3 separate regions of the Homo sapiens genome follow, and regions 1 and 2 are each linked to region 3. Evidence: promoter capture Hi-C in 16 types of primary human blood cells and fetal thymus (Javierre and others, 2016). All regions are on one chromosome and are shown on one strand. The core of a region is centred on a gene start or on the middle of the fragment in contact, and the rest is flanking DNA. Distances in the headings are between cores, read along the strand shown.

The links. Contacts are between HindIII fragments. The CHiCAGO score rates a contact against its expected background, and 5 or more counts as called.
Region 1: a fragment that was not itself captured here is called in contact with the fragment with the promoter of TM7SF3 in region 3 in 2 of 17 cell types (neutrophils and monocytes); the score reaches 7.8 in neutrophils.
Region 2: a contact is called between a fragment that was not itself captured here and the fragment with the promoter of TM7SF3 in region 3, in 12 of 17 cell types (neutrophils, activated CD4 T cells, fetal thymus and 9 more). The highest score is 15.3, in neutrophils.

Annotation. Positions count from the first base shown.
Region 1 is chr12:27,226,824-27,229,523 of GRCh38, reverse strand. No RefSeq gene overlaps it. Among named protein-coding and RNA genes, the nearest start is that of STK38L, 16 kb to the left of the region's middle. The HindIII fragment of the contact is 3,906 bases long and covers 1-2,700 here.
Region 2 is chr12:26,842,506-26,845,246 of GRCh38, reverse strand. No RefSeq gene overlaps it. Among named protein-coding and RNA genes, the nearest start is that of ITPR2, 11 kb to the right of the region's middle. RefSeq lists a silencer at 1-171. The HindIII fragment of the contact is 5,050 bases long and covers 1-2,741 here.
Region 3 is chr12:27,012,832-27,015,671 of GRCh38, reverse strand. TM7SF3 (transmembrane 7 superfamily member 3) reads left to right here and starts at 1,288. Exons shown (of 12, transcript NM_016551.3): 1 at 1,288-1,594. The coding sequence starts at 1,504. RefSeq lists a silencer at 1,096-1,595. The HindIII fragment of the contact is 5,016 bases long and covers 1-2,279 here.

The sequences.
Region 1 (2,700 bases), core at 1-2,500, 210 kb before region 3:
CAAATGCAAGGTCCAGCTATAGAAATGAGCTTTGTGTGTTTGAAGAGTGAGAAGAAAGTAACCGTTGCAGGAATGTTGGGAGTGAAATAAGTGTGGTAGGAGATGATCTCTGAGGAATAAGCAGGGCCCTTCTCTACTGTGTTGGCTGGGACAAGACATCATTGGAGGGTCTTGAGCAAGAGAATAAAGTGAGCAGAATAATGGAAGAGTATGGGAAAAGGGGGCCTTAATGAGCTAGAAGTATGATTGAAATGATGGAAAGTCTTAAGGATCAGGGCAAACAATTAAAAGGAAAAAATGGAAAGTCATTTGAAACTCGAGGGAAAAAAGGTTGTACAAGAAAATCAATATAATCTTAGCACATTACATGGCTCTCCATTGAAAACAATAATATAAGTAATTTTCACTGACTTTTAACTTTTAGGATCAATCTATAATAAAACCAAAATAGATTTCATTATGTTTGCATAAAAGGTAAGAAGAAGGATGAGGCATTAATGAAATAGGGAGTTAGGAGATCTTATCTATAGGTTAATGGACAAGAAATAGAGGTTTAATTATTTAAAATTTCAAAAGTAAGCAACCGAAGAACTAAAAATGTTTAGTTAAATATATTGGCAGGAGAGGAGAAAGGTGAGTATAGTTTTGGAAGGGAACTAAATTCTCAATGATCATAGCAGGAAGTCAGTAGATAATGTCTGAAGTTGATCAATCAATCAAAAACGTAAGTATAAGCATATTATTTACAGAAGTGGAGGTAACCATTGGAATTACAAGTTCTGGCCTCTGGAGAGAGGGCCAGAGAAGAAAAGTGAGGGGCAGAGGATTATTACTTGTTGTTATAAGCCCTTGAGTCTTTAATGTTTTTTAATAGCACATATATTAGTTTGACTTTAAAAACATTTTAGGCCAGGAACAATGGCTCACACCTGTAATCTCAACATTTAGGGAGGCCGAGGTGGGTGGATAACTTGAGGCTGGGAGTTCGAGACCAGCCTGGCCAACATGGTGAAACTCTGCCTCTATTAAAAATACAAAAACATTAGCCAGGCATGGTGGCACACACCTGTAATCCCAGCTACTCGGGAGGCTGAGGCACGAGAATCATTTGAACCTGGGAGATGGAGGTTGCAGTGAACTGAGATTGCACCACTGCACTCCAGCCTGGGCAACAGAGCTAGACTCTGTCTCAAAATAATTTAATTTTGTGTATATCAATCAATCAATAAATAAATCTAGACCCACCAAATCTATTTGTCTACATGAAGTCAAGATTTTCTTTTATGATCCAGCAATAGGTCCAAGTGAAATAAAATGATCTACTTCTTTTTTTTTTTTTTTTTTTGGGACAGAGTTTCACTCTTGTTGCCCAAGCTGCAGTGCAATGGCATGATCGTGGCTCACCACAACCTCTGCCTCCCGGGTTCAAGTGATTCTCCTGCCTCAGCCTCCCAGGTAGCTGGGATTACAGGCATGTGCAACCACACCTGGCTAATTTTGTATTTTCAGTAGAGACGGGGTTTCTCCACGTTGGTCAGGCTGGTCTCAAACTCCCGACCTCAGGTGATCGACCCGCCTTGGCCTCCCAAAGTGCTGGGATTACAGGCGTGAGCCACTGCGCCCGGCCAAAATGATCTACTTCTAAAAGATCCACCCTGAAGTGTCTATACATGAATGTAGGAGGATGGGAGTGAAGAAGCATTAAACAGAGCTAGCGGAATAGCACAGTAGTTAGGAGCATGGCCTCTGGAAGCAGACTCTGTGAATTTGAATCCCAGCTTTGCCTCTCACTAACTGTGTGACCTTGGGAAAGATACTTTACTTCTCTGTTCCTCAGTTTCCTGTAAAATGGGGGTCATAAAAGTACCTACCTCATATGGCTTTAAGCAGTAAATAAGTTAATCTTTGTAATGTATAGATAAAACAGTGTCAGCTGGGTGCAGTGGCTCATACTTGTAATCCCAGCAATTTGGGAAGCCTAGACAGGAGGATTGCTTGAGCCCAGGAGTTCAAGACCAGCCTGGGCAACATGGTAAAACCCTATCTATACAAAAACTTTAAAAATTAGCTGGGCATGGTGGCACGCAGCTATAGTCCTAGATACTCAGGAGGCTGAGGTAAGAGAATCGCTTGGGCCTGGGAGGTGGAGGTTACAGTCCAGCCTGGGTGACAGAGTGAGACCTTGTCTCAAAAAACAAAACAAAAAAAACGGTGTCTGCACGTTGTTGGCATTAAATTCATATTTCTTTAAATTACAAAGCACAGTATGATTTGAGGGCAATAGAAGAGTGTTCCAGCCAAATTTCTCTCTCCTACAGGTATGAAATTCCATTATTATAGATTTTGTTGAAGGATTTACAATATTTTAGAATGCTCCATGAATAGAGTTCTCTTGAGAGGAATTACATCTTAAATTCTCATTTGCTCCAAACTTGTTTGAATTAATCAAACCCTTTCCAACCTTGATCCTTATCTGAACATAGGGCATCCTTGTTAGGTAGCTGAGATAGAGGAAGGGGCTGGTTTGCCAAGAGAGTAGAAAGCATCAAAAAGGGAGGTGAGAAGACAGTTCCACAGGGAACTAACTAGGAGGACTCTAGGCAAACAACCTCATGGTTTGGCCAAGGACCAGACTTTAACGAATAGTCTTGGCTCCTGTTTCCCCATGGCCTGTCCTATTCCTGTCTGTCTCACACTGAC
Region 2 (2,741 bases), core at 222-2,721, 170 kb after region 3:
GGAGGTTGCAGTGAGTCAAGACCGTGCCACTGCACTCCAGCCGGGGCGACGAGCAAAACTTCGTTTCAAAAAAATAAAAAAAAATAAAAAAATAAAAATAAAGTCATCATATAAATCATTTTACATATTATTACATATTCTTAGTAAGAATTGCTTACTATACTCCCTGGCAGCTGCTACAGTGTAATCACTAATTTGCTACTGTTCAATATTTATTTTCTTCTCCATGCTTATTATTATTACTATGATAAACATAATTGTGAATAAAGCACTTTTCATACATAGGATTATTTCTTTAGGTTATATTCCATATGTCCACATTGCCATTAAAATGGTTGTACAAAATATGATATTGGCTGTTTGACTAACAGCATTGGTTACAATAACTAAAAACTTTTATTTTGCTAATCTAATGCATGAGAAATGATATCTCACTATTATATTACTTTTATTTTTTTGCCTATAACCAACCTTTTGCCTATAATATTTGTTGCAAACTATTCCCACTTTGTTGTTTTACTTTCAGTTGAGTTTTTTGTTACATTTTAAAAATAGAAGAAAAAATACATATATAATTTACCATCTTTACCATTTTAAGTATGCAGTTCAGTGGTAGTAAACACATTTATATCGCTTTTTGTTCCCTTCACTCACCCTTTCCCCTTCCCTTACTGGTGTTAGAATTTTTACATAAAAATTTAAAGTTGTAAGAATTAAACTTACTTCATAATTTGCTTTATGTTTTTATATTAATGCATATGTATTTCTAAGCATAGGTATCCCCTGTTCTTAAGATGGTAAATATTCAATTCCCTTTATTTTGGTGAATTTTGAATTCAGATGAATACATTAAGTCATTAAATATAAAATTAATTAATTTATTTTTGAGACAAGGTCTCACTGTGTCACCCAGGCTGGAGTGCAGTGGCACCATCATGTCTCACTGAAGCCTCAAACTCCTGAGCTAAAGAGATCTTCCTGTCTCAGCCTCTGAGTAACTGGGACTATGGATGTAGTTTTTAAAATTTTTTAAATTAAATTTTTTTTTTTTTAAGATGGGGTCTGGCTATGTTGCCTAGACTGGTCTCAAACTCCTGACCTCAAGTGATCCTTCCACCTTGGCCTCCCAAAGTGCTGGGGTTACAGGCGTGAGTCACTGCACCTGGCCCTGGATTTATTTTTAAGATACGTGATAGCTTAAAACTGCTAAACTAGTATTCTCCATGTAAGTAAATAACATCATTTCTTGTATAATCTCATGCTTTCCCATTGATTTCTTATACTTTCTTTTTTATATATTGAGTTCTTACAAATAATCAGGACTGTAGACTGTGGTACTGTGCCTATAGGTACAAAAAACAGGTACAAAACAGCTTCCTTCACATCTAGGTGTTCACTCTGAAACAAAAAGTACAACTCAGAGTTCTTGCCTTAAACAAATTGATGCTAATTAGTTGGGTAATCAGGATGTATACATCCGAAATAATGCACTAAAGTAGACCCACATTACTGCATTTCAAACTAGATTCATAAATGAGAGAAAACAAAGGTAAACTTGGGGGAATCACAGGGGTGAGAAAAAGGACTCCAGGAAGTTTTCCCTGGATTTATTCTCCCTGGTTTTGCCCAACCAAAGTATTATGTCTTCCCAAAAATCAGGAACCACAAGCATGGCAGCATTCTCTGGTGTTAGATGGCAGTTTTCTCTGTGGGTTTTATCCGCTACCTTCTTTGAAGAGATAAAAAGCTGTCAGCTTGTGGAAAGCAGAGTTCTCATGTGACAATTGTGGGTGGTTTTATAGCACCAGGCTGGAAATTTAGCCATTTTGTTTCTTTTGTCTCAAAATTTGCTTTTCCCTGATGTCTGAAACGTGTCTGTTAAAAAAATTGATTTCTTTCTCTTACACATATTTTTTAAAAAATTCAAATTCCTTGAAAAAGAAAAATTTAATAATTATCAAGAATTTTGCCCTGGCTCAGTGTGGCTCATGCTTGTAATCCCAGAACTTTGGGAGGCAGAGGCGGGTAGATCACTTGAGGCCAGGAGTGCAAGACCAGCCTGACCAACATGCAATACCTGGTCTCTACTAAAAATACAAAAAATAGCTGGGTATGGTGGTGGGGGCCTGTAATCCCAGCTATTCCAGAGGCTGAGGCAGGAGAATCACTTTAACCTGGGAGGCGGAGGTTGCAGTGAGCTGAGATGGCACCACTACCCTCCAGCCTAGGCGACAGAGCAAGACTCATCTTAAAACAAAAAACAAAAAACAAAAACAAAAAACAACAAAAAAAGAATTCGCTACAGTTGATGGAAGGGATTGATCTGTAAATGGCAGAGCTGGTGGCCCAGAGGCTCTGGAGACAGCTCTGGTGTGGGCTCAGTCACTGGCATGTCTTATTGCATAGACAGAAACACCTCTGATGCTTGGTTTTCTTATGACATTTCATGCTGCTTTTCTCACAGATAATCATAATCATAATAATAGCTAATATTTATTGAAGTTGGATGTGGTGGTTTATGCCTTGTAGTCCTAGCTCCTTGAGAGGCTGAAGCCAAAGGATTGCTTGACCCTGGAATTCTGGGATGCAGTGAGCTATGACTGCACCACTGCACTTCAGCCTGGATGACAGAGTGAGATCCTCTCTCTAAAAAACAGCAAAACAAAACAAAAAACATGAAAGGTTATTAAGCACTTTATGCCAGGCACCACATCAAGCCCCTTAAATGTAACTTCTAATTT
Region 3 (2,840 bases), core at 39-2,538:
GGGGCATGTGGGAGAGTGAATAAGCACTACAGAAATAGATAGTGCTACCAAAGGTGTGAAAATTTGGACCAGGCAGTGGGAAAGCAGAGAAAGAATTGTGCCTATGACAAAGATTATTTGCTTGGCCAAACTCTAGTACGGCTTCTGAATCTTCTGCTAGGTCCATCTGTGCACTTCTTTGTAAAAATCCAGTTTTAGCAAAGAACCCCCTTTCCTCCATATCTAATCAGTTTTCTCACCCTGCACCATCCCCCAGGTGATGTTATGTCTTCAGAAGTCCTGTTAGGTCAGTTTCACCAAATGCCCCTTACCTCTGATGCTTCCTCTTAGTAATTTTCCATCCACTGAACTCCATACTGCTGGTTGGCTATAAATTCCCTCTTGCCCACGCTGTATTCGGAGTTGAGCCCAGTCCCTCTTCCCCACTGCAAGACCCAGTTGCAGTGGTCCCTATGCCAATTGAGACAGTCCTCAATAGTCTTCGTTCGGTGCTTTAACAAGTATCATTGAATAATTTTGTCTTTAACACTTCTTCACATTATGGTCACAGCTATATATTGTTAGCTTAGTAGTGGACTAACTGAACATGTAATTTCCAAGCTATAAGTTGCTCATCAAAATATATAAGTGAAAAAAATTAAAACCAGGGAAGGAAAGCAAGACAATCCTCCCCAAATAACGTTAAGTCTATGCGTCTAATTCCACATCATCGATGAGCCATCTGTCACATGGACTACTGTCCCTCAAACAGCACTCAGGTATGAGACTTGAGACGAAGTTCAGACCAAGGCCGTGTCTTCGAGGATATTTCGCTTAGAGAAAACGAAACTACTTTTAAATGTAGTGCTTATGACTAGTGCGGTAACCACTACACAAACAGCATTCTCCTGGCATTTTTATGCTAACATAAGCCTCAGCAGCGAAGACAATTGCTACCGGGGGAAATAACCTTCAATTGTGTTTTTAGCAACTGATTCCTCTTTTTTGCTGTTGTAAAGGGCCGTTAAACACGGAAACAGGAGCCTGGCGACGTTAGTCCGCAACAGAAAGTTATTTTGTACTTTCACAGTGGGTTTGCCTACTTGGTGAGATAAAAGTGGGGCAAGACCGGGCCTCAAGCCAGGACTTCCTGGGGGCTCCCGGGAGCACCGCAGGCTGCGCGTTCCCCGCGCGCCGGCAGGAGGCGCGCGCTGCCTGGAAACGCCCCAGCGCCGCCCGCGCCCAGAGACCCGCCGCTGTGACGCAGCGAGAGCCCGGGAGGAGGCGCGGGAACGCGCGTTGGGGGTCAGGTGCCGGAAGAGGAAACCTCTCGCTGGGGCTAGGAGTTCGGCGGGGCGCGCGCCGGCGGCTGCGGAGCTGGCAGGTGCGAAGCGTCTGCACCTGGCGGGCGATGGCGCCCGATGCGGGCGCCCCGGGATAGCGTGGGCGAGGCTGCGGGGCCCCGGCGCGCACGCCCGCACCTCTCCCCAGCCCTGGCGTGGGCCCAGCCCGGCCCAGGCAGCAATGGGGTTCCTGCAGCTGCTGGTCGTAGCGGTGCTGGCATCCGAACACCGGGTGGCTGGTGCAGCCGAGGTCTTCGGGAATTCCAGCGAGGGTAAGGTCGGGGCGCCTGGCTTCTGCAACCCAAAGTTGCTTTTGCATTTCTTGCGAGGTCAAAATCCGCCAGGGGTCTGTCAGCCTAGCAGGGAGATGGTGCTGGGGGCGTTGGTACACGCTGGGTGGTGAGTCCAGAACCGGCACGAATGGTGTTTCCTGCAGCGGAAACACTCATGGCTAAGGAGGTCTTACTATTAACCTCCTCATTTAGCGGAGGAAATGGGAAGAGATAAATAATTCTCTTTTTTTAACACAGTATTATCTCCCTTAGGGAGCAGCCATGTTTGTGGCTTTAATTCAACTTACTAAAGCGCCTCTTTGCTGCCCAGTGGACTGTCTGAGCTTCTGGACAGCAAGACTTGGGGTGGAACTAGCGGCTTAATGACTGATGGCTCTCAAGCTGCATGGAATTTTTACACCCCCAAATCTAGAGGCTTTTCAAACTGGTTATGTTCTACAGAGTTTGAGAGGGAAAATGAACCCATAATGAGGCTTTATTTTTAAAGAGCCTTTACCATCTAATTTATTAATACCATCTGGAGACAGGAAAACATTCCATACTCACAATGAGAAATAAAGGACTTTCTGAATTACAGATACATAGACATACAGATAGAATGTGTATACCCTCAATTCTACAAGTTCAGCCACAAATGAAAAATAAACACAGAAACACAAAAGCTTGCCAGTCCAGGTATCAGAGTTGTTCTCCTTACTTGAGGGCAAGAAATTTCTAATCGATTTGACCTTAAAAAAGACAAATGGACAAAAACTGTGTTCTCTGTTGTCTCATATCCAACAGGAAATAGATCTCTATGAGATATTAATTCGTTTACAGAGATCACAAAATTCCCAATCATTGCAGCTACCAACAGGAAATAACTTGTCATCCATAAATGAACTGTAAAAAATAACAATTTAATAGAGAGTAAAACTAAAATGAGAAAAACAAGAATCAACGAAGTTCTATTGCCACTTCAAATTCACCTGTGGGAGCCAAGAAGCAACATGCCCGGGCTTGGCTCCCTATGAGTACACCATTTTTGATGATTTCAGGTGACTTTTTTTTTTTTTTTTTTTGACGGAGTCTCGCTCTGTCGCCTAGGCTGGAGTGCAGTGGCATGATCTTGGCTGACTGCAACCTCCGACACCCGGGTTCAAGCAATTCTCCTGCCTCAGCCTCCAGAGTAGCTGGGATTACAGGCGCCCGCCACCACACCCAGCTAGTTTTTGTATTTTTAGTA